2 separate regions of the Homo sapiens genome follow, and region 1 is linked to region 2. The links are contacts of gene promoters, found by promoter capture Hi-C in human tissues and cell types (Jung and others, 2019). All regions are on one chromosome and are shown on one strand. The core of a region is centred on a gene start or on the middle of the fragment in contact, and the rest is flanking DNA. Distances in the headings are between cores, read along the strand shown. Region 1 overlaps SDC4 (syndecan 4). Region 2 holds the start of PCIF1 (phosphorylated CTD interacting factor 1).

The links. Contacts are between HindIII fragments. The study calls those that stand out against the background at their distance.
Region 1: a fragment that was not itself captured here is called in contact with the fragment with the promoter of PCIF1 in region 2 in 1 of the 25 tissues and cell types used here (H1 embryonic stem cells).

What each region holds. Positions count from the first base shown.
Region 1 is chr20:45,340,012-45,344,787 of GRCh38, reverse strand. The region is part of intron 1 of SDC4 (syndecan 4); the gene reads left to right. Among named protein-coding and RNA genes, the nearest start is that of SDC4, 6.0 kb to the left of the region's middle. RefSeq lists an enhancer at 1,461-2,355. The HindIII fragment of the contact is 7,626 bases long and covers 1-4,776 here.
Region 2 is chr20:45,931,128-45,935,932 of GRCh38, reverse strand. It overlaps PCIF1 (phosphorylated CTD interacting factor 1), which reads right to left and starts at 1,250. Exons shown (of 17, transcript NM_022104.4): 1 at 1,129-1,250. It overlaps LOC107985388 (pre-mRNA-splicing factor cwc22-like), which reads left to right and starts at 862. Exons shown (of 1, transcript NR_171669.1): 1 at 862-2,439. RefSeq lists a silencer at 720-929 and enhancers at 558-1,248, 1,249-1,940, 2,200-2,349, 2,632-3,324. The HindIII fragment of the contact is 7,503 bases long and covers 1-4,805 here.

The DNA.
Region 1 (4,776 bases), core at 447-2,946, 590 kb after region 2:
TCCTTCCTGCCCAGAGAGCCCATTGATGAGGGGAGGGGCCCTTTGCTGGCCTCCTTGGTGAAGAGTCTAAACAAATCCCAGTCTCAGAAGAGAAGTTGGGGTGGCGGGGGGACATTCAGCTCCTGCCATCCCCAGCTCCTAGAAACAGAGGGCTTTTCCAAGGACTTGGAGTGCTGAGCCTGCCTGAATGAGGAGCTGGGGAAGCCAGGCTGGGCTCCCAGCCCCATCTCCCTGTTGGGAGAAGTTGGCTCCTAGCTGTCCTTCAACCTCCCGGACTGGACAGGCGAGTGTGATTTCCAAATGAATGCTTAAAATTGGGGTAAGGGGCTGGACCGAGCGCTGTGAGTCACTGCATGCTAGCGTAGCCTGCCTGAGTCACCCATTTCCTTTCAAACTCTTGGCTAATAGGACAGCTCTGTGGTGGGGGTGTTGGAATGAGCTCAGAGTTTTACCTTGTCCTTTGGGAGTCACTGTTTCAGTGTCCGGGGCTCGAGGGGACATACAGGACATGTTTGTACTAGGTCCCGCACTTTCACAGCCCCTTGCCTGCATGTAGACTTTGACATTGTACATTGTGCAGCCAGTCCTCAAAATTGGGCTTTAGACCTCTGCAGAGCAGGTAGTACTTTTTTCCTCTTTAAGGCAAAACTGAGGCTGCAACTGGCCTGCATTTTTTCAGAGAGCAAAAGCTGGTACTGTTCAGGTTTGGTGTGACCCCAGGATTTTCTGATGTTTGTGAGGACTCCTCTTTGCTTCCTGGGGCTGGCCAGAGGGCATTGAAACATTGGCTTGGTGTTACACAGACTTAACTCCAGACGTGCGAAGTCCACCTCTTACTGGCTACATGAATTCAGTCATGCTACTCCACCTCTGAGCCCCAGCCTCCTGGTCTGTTAAGAAGATCATGATACCGGTGTGGCGAAGCTTAAAGGAGACGACAGGGCTGTAAATAAAGGCACCTAGTACCATGCCTGGTAGGGAGGAGGTGTTACTTAGTGACAGTTCCCTTCCTTGCCCAGGCCACCTTCATGCCAGGGGGTCCTATCTCTGAAGATTCTGAGCCCAGGTCTCCTGGAAAGCTTTCTCCATCCCCCTTATCCCCCTTATCTACCCCCACAGCTGGGAGGTGGGAAGGGAGAAATCTAGGGTGGGGCTTTTGGAGTCCAAATCTCCTATTTGTTTATCTTAGAAGTGGGCTGTTTGCTAATTATCGAATGGGTTTATGTTTAAACAAGAACCAGTTCTGGGCAGCCCCACCTCTCCTGCTGGGATTTGCTGGAGCCTCATGCTGAACAGTTTGCAGCCTGGAGGGAGAGGGGGCAGGGGGTTTGCCAAGGGTATCAGACCACTCTGGACACTGTCCAGGACCTGGGGTCACCCTCCTGTGCTGGAGGGGCAGAGTTTCTACCCTTAAGGAGGCTGAGTGATTGCAAATAGCACTTTGAGGGGTGGGGTGTTGGTGGACAGAAAAGGTACAGTGTTCTGAAAAGCCAGTTTCTCGTATGTTTTCACTGCATGGTGCCCTAGAGAGGGAGGAGAGAGAACACATATGTCAACAGTTGGGGTCTCATTTAACCTTAGAAGAATAAGCCTGACTTCTTGGGCTTGTTTGTCATTAACTAACACAGTGGTGACCTTGGGCACATTCTTGCATCTCACTGGGGCCTCTCTGGTCCCATCTGCTGAAGGCTGGGTGACTGAAAAAGAGGGTACAGAAAACTCCAGCCCCCGTCCTAGCTCTGCTGCTCACCCAGGGACACACACAGTTAATACGTCACTTTGTTGATGTGAACTCCAGTGTCCTCTATAAAACACCTGTGGCACTCAAAGGTCATCATCGCTGTTTGGCAAACTTGTAAAGTTCTGGCTTTATTAGCACCTAGACGAGGGTTCTTAACCCGGCCAGAGTTTGGCTTTGGGGAGGTGGTGTCTGTGCATATGTTGAAAATGTAAACTAAGAGTTACAGTTATTGGGGTTTAGACCTTTTTATCCTTTTCAGGGGGCTGCAGTACTCCCCAAAAGGTCACTCTGATCTCAGCAGTTCTTTCTGGCTTTGACCTTTCTACAGCCATCCTTCCTCCCTCCCCCACTTCCCAGCCTTGTTCTTGCCTCCTGCTTCCCCCAACCCCCACCTTCAGCCCAGACCTTCCTATTCAGCGGCCCCCACCCCTTCAGGCTGCATCTCACCCCTCCCCCTGTCCTCCAGGCCCGGGAGCTCGGCTGCTCCAGTTTTCTCTGGCACAGTAGAAGAGGCTGCTGGTCAGGTGACACCTGGGGTAATGGAAAGGGGAGGCAGGGAGAGGCTGGTATGTGTGGAAACAGTGACTTGGTGAAGCCCAGCAGTCAGTGGCCAGGCCTGCGGGGACTGGCGGTGTCACTCTAGCCTCTGGGCGTGGGGGCAGATGTGGCACATGGCTGGCCCGGCTACCCAGAGTGGGGATACTCCTTGCCTTGGAGAAGCCCTGCCGGAGCCGTCTGTGGGACAGACTGACCTGGTCTGGAGGATGGCTTCCTTGGGGGTCGGTGAGGGAGGCTGGGAAGAGGCAGGAAGCCAGCACCCAGGGCTGATCTAATCAGCTGAGATAAGGCTGCAGCGTGGGCTCTCTACTCTGCTCTGAGAACACAGGAGGTTTGTTTACATCCCGAGAGCCTCCCTAGCCCTCGGATCCAGCAGGGATTTCGGATCTGCTGCCTAGATTACAAGCTCCAACTTCAATGCACCTCTGTCTCTGAGGCCCTGAGGGAGCCAGCCCCCTCCTGGCTGTCTCCACCGGTAATCGGAGCAATGCCCAGCTTGGTTACTGGGCTGGGACAGAGGGAGGCTTGTCTCTTTGAGACCTGTCTTTTACAGATTGGAAAACTGAGGCTCAGAGAAGGGAATTGTCCACGATCATCCAGGGAGTTAGTAACAAGGGTGCTGGGTCAGCTCCTGGCAGGGAGACATCCAGAGGCTCCTGAACCCTTCCCCCATTTCTAGCTGGCACCCTAGGATCCTGGAGTTCTTGCTGTGGGAATGGGCTGCCCTGAGGCTTGGTGAAAAGCTGGTTGCAGGCAGTGCCAGGCCTGGCTCTCTCCTGAGTGATTGTGTTCAGAGTAACCCGACCTTGAAGGCGACATTTGAACCCTCACTCCACCCCCACCCCCAGACCTGGTTTAACCATTCAGGCACCAGAGCACCAGACCATGGATTGGTGTGTAGTTTCTTTTTACCTTCTAGATTTTTATTTATTTATTTTGTCCCTGGGGACCCAGGTCCCCAAGTAGAATTTCAGGTGTTTCTGGTCACTGTCATTTGCACCTTCGGGGAAAATAAAAATGGTCTTTACCTCTGTCTGCTTAGGACAGGTGGTCAAAGCTGTGTGACCTTGGGCAGGTCTCTGACTATCTCTGTATCTTTTTTTCACAGTCTGAAGGGACCTGATTGGTTGTTGAAAAGTCTCTGGGCTCAGAAGCAAAATGATAACCTATTATAGATTATATTCCTTTACAGTTTGCAAAGCACCATCTCCCTGTCCCCAGGCTAGCTTCCTTCCAGCAACAGAACTGCCTCTGCAAGTTTTCCCAGGCCTCTGATCCTTTGAGCACTGATCCCACTGGCCAGGAGGAAGGCAGGTAGGGGTTAATCACAGCCACTATTCATTGATCACGTGCTGGGTCCCTTGCACACACAAATGCATTCCTCTTAATCCTCATCACCCTGCAAGGTGCTACCAGCCCTAGTCACAAAAGAGGAAACTGAGGATTTCAGAGATGAAATAAACTCCCAAGCTCATATAGTTAGGAAGTGGCAGAACTCACACTTGTGAATCTGCCTTGATGCACAACCACTCTGGGTGGTAGAGTCACAGTTGTGGGCCCCAGGTTTTAGCCATTCTGGGGAATGTCTGGCCCTTAAGAAGTGGGTGGGGTGGGGAAGAACAGTTACGAGTAGTGTACGCTGCTGGGGGTCTCCTGCTAGAAATCATTCTGGTGGGTCCAGGTGTTGGAGCCCCAGGTACTCACCATCCCCTCTCCCCACTAAATTTGGCTTGCCCAGTTATTACCCTTCTGGTCTTGCCTCCTGAAAGAAGGGTCAAGTGTGTCCCCGACCCTACCTCCCCTGGGGAGGAGCCAGGTCGGGAGAGGCTCTCATTAGTTCACAGTTATCCAAGCCCTGACCCTGAACTCCTCTCTGGTGCCCCAGCCAAGTTTCTGTTCCTTTGTTTAAGTGATATCACTTTCACCTTTGTTTACTCCTAGGCAGGGACAGGGTTGCCCTGGAGCCCTGGCCCAGCCAGTGTGTTGTGGACTGGCGGGTTAGGCTGGAGAGAAGTGAAGAGTGGGTGGCAGTGAGAAGCCTAGTTGTGGTTGGGACGTGTTCTTGAGGAAGATCTGGATTTGAATCCCAGCTCTAGCTTTCTAGTTGCATGACGTTGGATAAGTGACTCAGCTGAACCTCAGTCTTCTCATCTGCAAAATGGGTAGAGCACCTTGCAAGGCTGTTTTGCCATTTAAATGAACTTGTATAAACAAAGTACCCAGCATGGTGCTTGGCATGTAGTGGATACTCCTTTTAGTCACTCATGCTTTTCCTGGGGTGATAGAAGCCATAGGATTTGGGGATAGGGTTGGGATAGGACCTTTTCGTAGCTTCATGCCTATAGCCAAAAGACTAGATGGGGAGTATAACTGTAATGACAGCTGCTGCCTGTGGATTTGCTGAGACCCTTAGGGGCAGCCAACACCCTGGAAGGGGAGAGAAGATAATTCCAGTCTGGGAGCCAGGATACCTAGGT
Region 2 (4,805 bases), core at 1-2,500:
ATACGCACAAGCGGCACAGCTTAGTGTGAGGCTAAATGGGGACACTGCAGTATTTCCAAAGCCAGCTGTGCATCAGAATCATCTTGGAGTTTGTAAAAAAAAAAAAAAAATCAGACTCCTGTGCCTCACTGCGCATCTCAGAAGCCAGAAATAAATACGGAGGTGAGGCACACAAGAATTTGTATTTTTAAAACGCACCGTAAGAGTGACTGGGAGACAGGATGACTCATTTTTTCACACTATTTGAAAAAATGTACCCATTTTTTGCAATTAAAACCATTTTTAATTTCCTATGTGACTTGAGCGCAGCAGGTCTGTGGCCGAAGTACCAGCCCCTGGGTTGGACAGACCCGGATTCCGGGCCCTTCTGCTTTCCGGCTTATAAACCGGAATCACTCGACCGTTATATGTAGAGTCCAGCATTGTACGCTCCCAGTAAGACATAACTGCTCTTAAGTTAACGTCTTTATTTATCCTGTGGCTTCCCGACCCCCACGCATACCGCAGTTTGAGAATTACCGCTGCTCAAGGATAAACAACTCTATCTGCGCAACCAGAAAAACCCACCAGAAGCCAGAGTCCGAGTCCGGGATTGGAGGCACGTGGGGCGGGACCATCTCCGCAATGTACCAATCAGAATTCTCCGGCCCAGTAGGGAGGAGTCAAAGGGCGAACAAAGTACGCAGGCGCGACGGCGCACGAAGGCGAGAGGCGAGCTCCAGCGCGCGCGCGCGCGCGCACCTTCCCCTCCCCCTACCCCAGCGAGGGTGGGCTGTTTGGCGCGCGCGCGCGCGCCGGCCCATCTCTCGGGCTCCGCCCCCCGCCCCGCCGCGCGCTCCCGCCCCCGGGCTGAGGCGACTCAGAGTCGGAGCCCGACACAAAGGCGGTGGCGGCGGCAGCAGCGGAGGGGCCCTAGAGCCCGCTCCGCTGGGGCTCTCCGGGCCCACCTCCCTCACTTCGGCCACCGGCGCGGCCGCCCACCCGCGGGTCTAAGATGGCGGCGGCAACAGAGACAGGGCAAGCGGCAGTCCCGAGCAGAAAGCGCCGGAGGGGCCGCCGCCCCCCAGCTTCGGATCCCCAGACCCTGGCGCGGCTCGCTGCGGGACCATGGCTTCCTGGGACTCTTACCTGCCCGGAGCGGACTGGAGGGGACGCGGCTACACGTTCTGCTCGACCGCCCGTTTTGCCGCCTCCGCCTCGCCCTCCCCAGCGCCGCTGCCGCCATCTTGTGTCCCGGGCCGGGACTCCGCGCTGCGCATGCGCTGGTACCGCCTCTGAGGGACCTCGCCGCGGCCGCGCCGCCATCTTGAGTGTGGCAGGGTCGGCTGGCTCCTCGCACCCAGCTTGCTTTCGGCCCCCTCCCCTTCTTCCCATCCGTCCCTGCTGTTCCTTGTGGCGCTGAGGAAGGGGAGACAGCTTTGTAGGCCTGCGGGTGGACTGAGGAAGGAATGAATTCACTGGCACGTCCCCGCCTCAGTTTCCCCCTCGAGCACACACGCAGGAGCCGGATGTTCGCGGTGGGCGGTGCGCGGCGGGGTTGGACTGAGCGTGCGCACTGGGGGGCGTGGGGGCTGTCTTAGAACCTGCGGGGGTCTCGGGTTCTGCCGCCGGCCCAGGGGAGGCATCGTGGTGACGTAGGCTCCGGACGTAGCAAGGACCTGGGTCCTGGCACCCGCGCGGCTCTGCCTCTTCCAGCCAGTCTCTTTCCCTCTCTGGGCCTTTGTGCTGCGTGGTGTCCAAATGTTAAGAAGCCCTGCCCCATGCCCGGGCTACATATACATCGAACCCAAGCTGTAAATGCTCTTGAGTAGAAGCAACTTAAACTAGCCTTCGGGGGCAAGTAATAGAGATGGCTTTCGGCAGAGTTGGGAAATCAACTAAATGCATTGTAGGGCCTTTCCAACATTGACATCTGTGGCCATTAGTTGCAGTTCAAAGCCTCACTGAGCCCTCAAACCAGCTACAGCGGGTAGCCTGGCAGGGAACTGGCAGCTGTGAGGTGCTCCTCATCCGGCTCCCTGCAGGATTCTTTTTGGTAGGAGCCTGCAGGCGTCCGAGTGGTAGCTCCACCCATCTCCGGTCTCCCCAGCAAGCATCCCTTCCAGTGCTAGCTTGAGAAGAGGAAAAGCTTGCCACCTGCTGTCAGACCGGCGCTTGTGTGGAGCCAGGGGCTGTAGGTACCCCGGCTGAGTAGCCTCTCAGATGTCCATGGTCCTGGCTGCACGCCAGCGTGGGGGCAGGCAGGCGGACGCTCAAGAAAAACGGAGGCACCGATATGAGTAGTAATTGAGAACGAGGGTTCATGATCCTCATCTGATTTCAATCCCTGCTCCTCCACCCAAAATGTGTGGCCTTGAAGGAGTTAACCAATTTAAATTTTAGTTTCCTCAGTGGAAGATAATAAATCCGCCTACCTCATAAAGGTTTGGTGAGAATTAACTCAGGTGATGCATGTGAAGTCCTCAGCGCAATACCTGGCGCTTCCTAAGTGCTGAATCGGTTAGCCGTGATCATCTCACAGTGGCATGAGCATTGCTCCAAGTAGATTTGAGCCCTCCAGAAATAAGCCAGCTCTATATAGGCACAGCAGTTCTGCCCTCGCAGAGCTTCTCGTTCAGATAAGAGGCCTGATGGGAAACCAGACTCCTGGGTCCTGTCTCAGTTCTGGAAGGGTGGGGGGCCAGCTTTGATTTATGCCTGCTGCCCTGGCATAATTACTAATATTGCCTCCTTTTTCAGAAGTGCCCTGCTTTGGGCCGGGCGTGGTGGCTCACCCCGGTAATCCCAGCACTTTGGGAGGCCGACGCAGGTGGACCACCTGAGGTCAGGAATTCAAGACCAGCCTGGCCAACACGGCGAAACCCCGTCTCTACTAAAATTACAAACATGAGCCAGGCCTGGTGGCGCGCGCCTGTAATCCCAGCTACTCGGGAGGCTGAGGCAGGAGAATCACATGATCCCGGGAGGCAGAGGTTGCAGTGAGTCGAGATCGCGCCACTGCACTCCAGCCTGGGCGACAGAGTGAGACTCCTGTCTCAAAAAAAAGTACTGCTTTGGGCAGTAAACTACGTGGTCGCTCTTGACCTACGGGATAACCAGTTTTCCATGCTCATGCCCCCCAGCTAGCCCGCGCTTTCACTAAAGTTTAAAAACCATGTAGTGATTATTACCCTTTTTTTTTTTTGAGACGAAATCTCGCACTGTCGCCCGGGCTGGATTGCAGTGGCGCGATCTCGGCTCACTACAACCTCTGCCTCCCGGGTTCAAGCAATTCTCCTGCCTCAGCCTCCCAAGTAGCTGGGATTATAGGCACCCGCCACCACTCCCACCTAATTTTATTTGTATTTTTAGTAGAGACGGTGTTTCACGATGTTGGCCAGGCTGGTCTCAAACTCCTGACCTCATGATCCGCCCGCCTCGGCCCCCCAAAGTGCTGGGATTACAGGCGTGAGCCACCGCGCCCGGCCTTTTATCTATTCTTTTATGTTTTCAAAGTATTTTCTCATTCATTGTTCAGATTCTCTTAATTGATAACCAAGATACCAAACATCCCAAGTGCCTAGTCTTCTGTTTTATCATGGAATTCTGTGAATTATTACCTAAATCTGCACATGAGCAAACAGGTTGGAGCGAGGGGCAGGGGCGAAGTCATTGTCCAGGTTCACACAGCCATCAACAAGTAACAAAACTGGGATTTTAAGCCCGGAGTTCTCAACACCAAAATGCAGGGCTGGTTCCATTAAACCACTCTGGCCTCCCTGTTTTGTGAAGAAGGGATCTAGATTCAGGCGATGTGACTGGTCTGAGTGGACACAGTGGCCCTGGATAGTTCAATCTTTTTTTTTTTTTTTTTTTTTGAGACGGAGTTTCGCTCTTGTTGCCCAGGCTGGAGTGCAGTGGTGCAATATCGGCTCACTGCAACCTCCGCCTCTAGGGTTCAGGCGATTCTCCTGCCTCAGCCTCCTGAGTAGCTGGTGTTACAGGCATGCGCCACCACGCCCGGCTAATTTTGTATTTTTAGTAGAGACGGGGTTTCTCCCTGTTGGTCAGGCTGGTCTCGAACTTCCCACCTCAGGTGATCCGCCCACCTCGGCTTCCCAAAGTGCTGGGATTACAGACGTGAGCCACCGCCTCCGGCCTGGATAGTTAAGTATCTTAAAGGTTTCTCTATCTCACAGTGTTCAGCACTGCTTTTCACCTGATACATGCCTCATCTTCTCCGTTTGCTCACTTTCCGCATGTCAAAACCAGCCTCTTCTCAGCTGGGTGCGGTGGCTCACGCCTGTAATCCCAGCACTTTGGGAGGCCAAAGCGGGTGGATCACCTGAGGTCAGCAGTTTGAGACCAGCCTGGCCAACAGGGTGAAAGCCCATCTGTACTAAAAATACAAAAATTAGCTGGGCATGGTGGCAAGCGCCTGTAATTCCAGCTACTCAGGAGGCTGAGGCAGGAGAATCGCTTGAACCCGGGAGGAAGAGGTTGCAATGAGCCGAAATCACACCATTGCACTCTAGCCTAGGTGACAGGAGCAAAACTCCGTCTCAAACAAAACAAAACCCAACCTCTTCTCACCATTCTAATGACTACCTTAAGAGCTGGCGTTTCCCACCCCTACCCCCCTTTTTTTTAGAAGCAGAGTCTCAGTCTATCTCCCAGACTGATGTGCACTCATAGCTCATTGTAACCTTGAACTCCTTGCCTTAAGCAATCCTCCTGCTTCAGCCTTCCAAAGTGCTGGGATTACAGGCATGAGCCACCACACACAGCCCAATTTTGTTTTGTTTTTTGAAAAGGAGTCTTGCTCT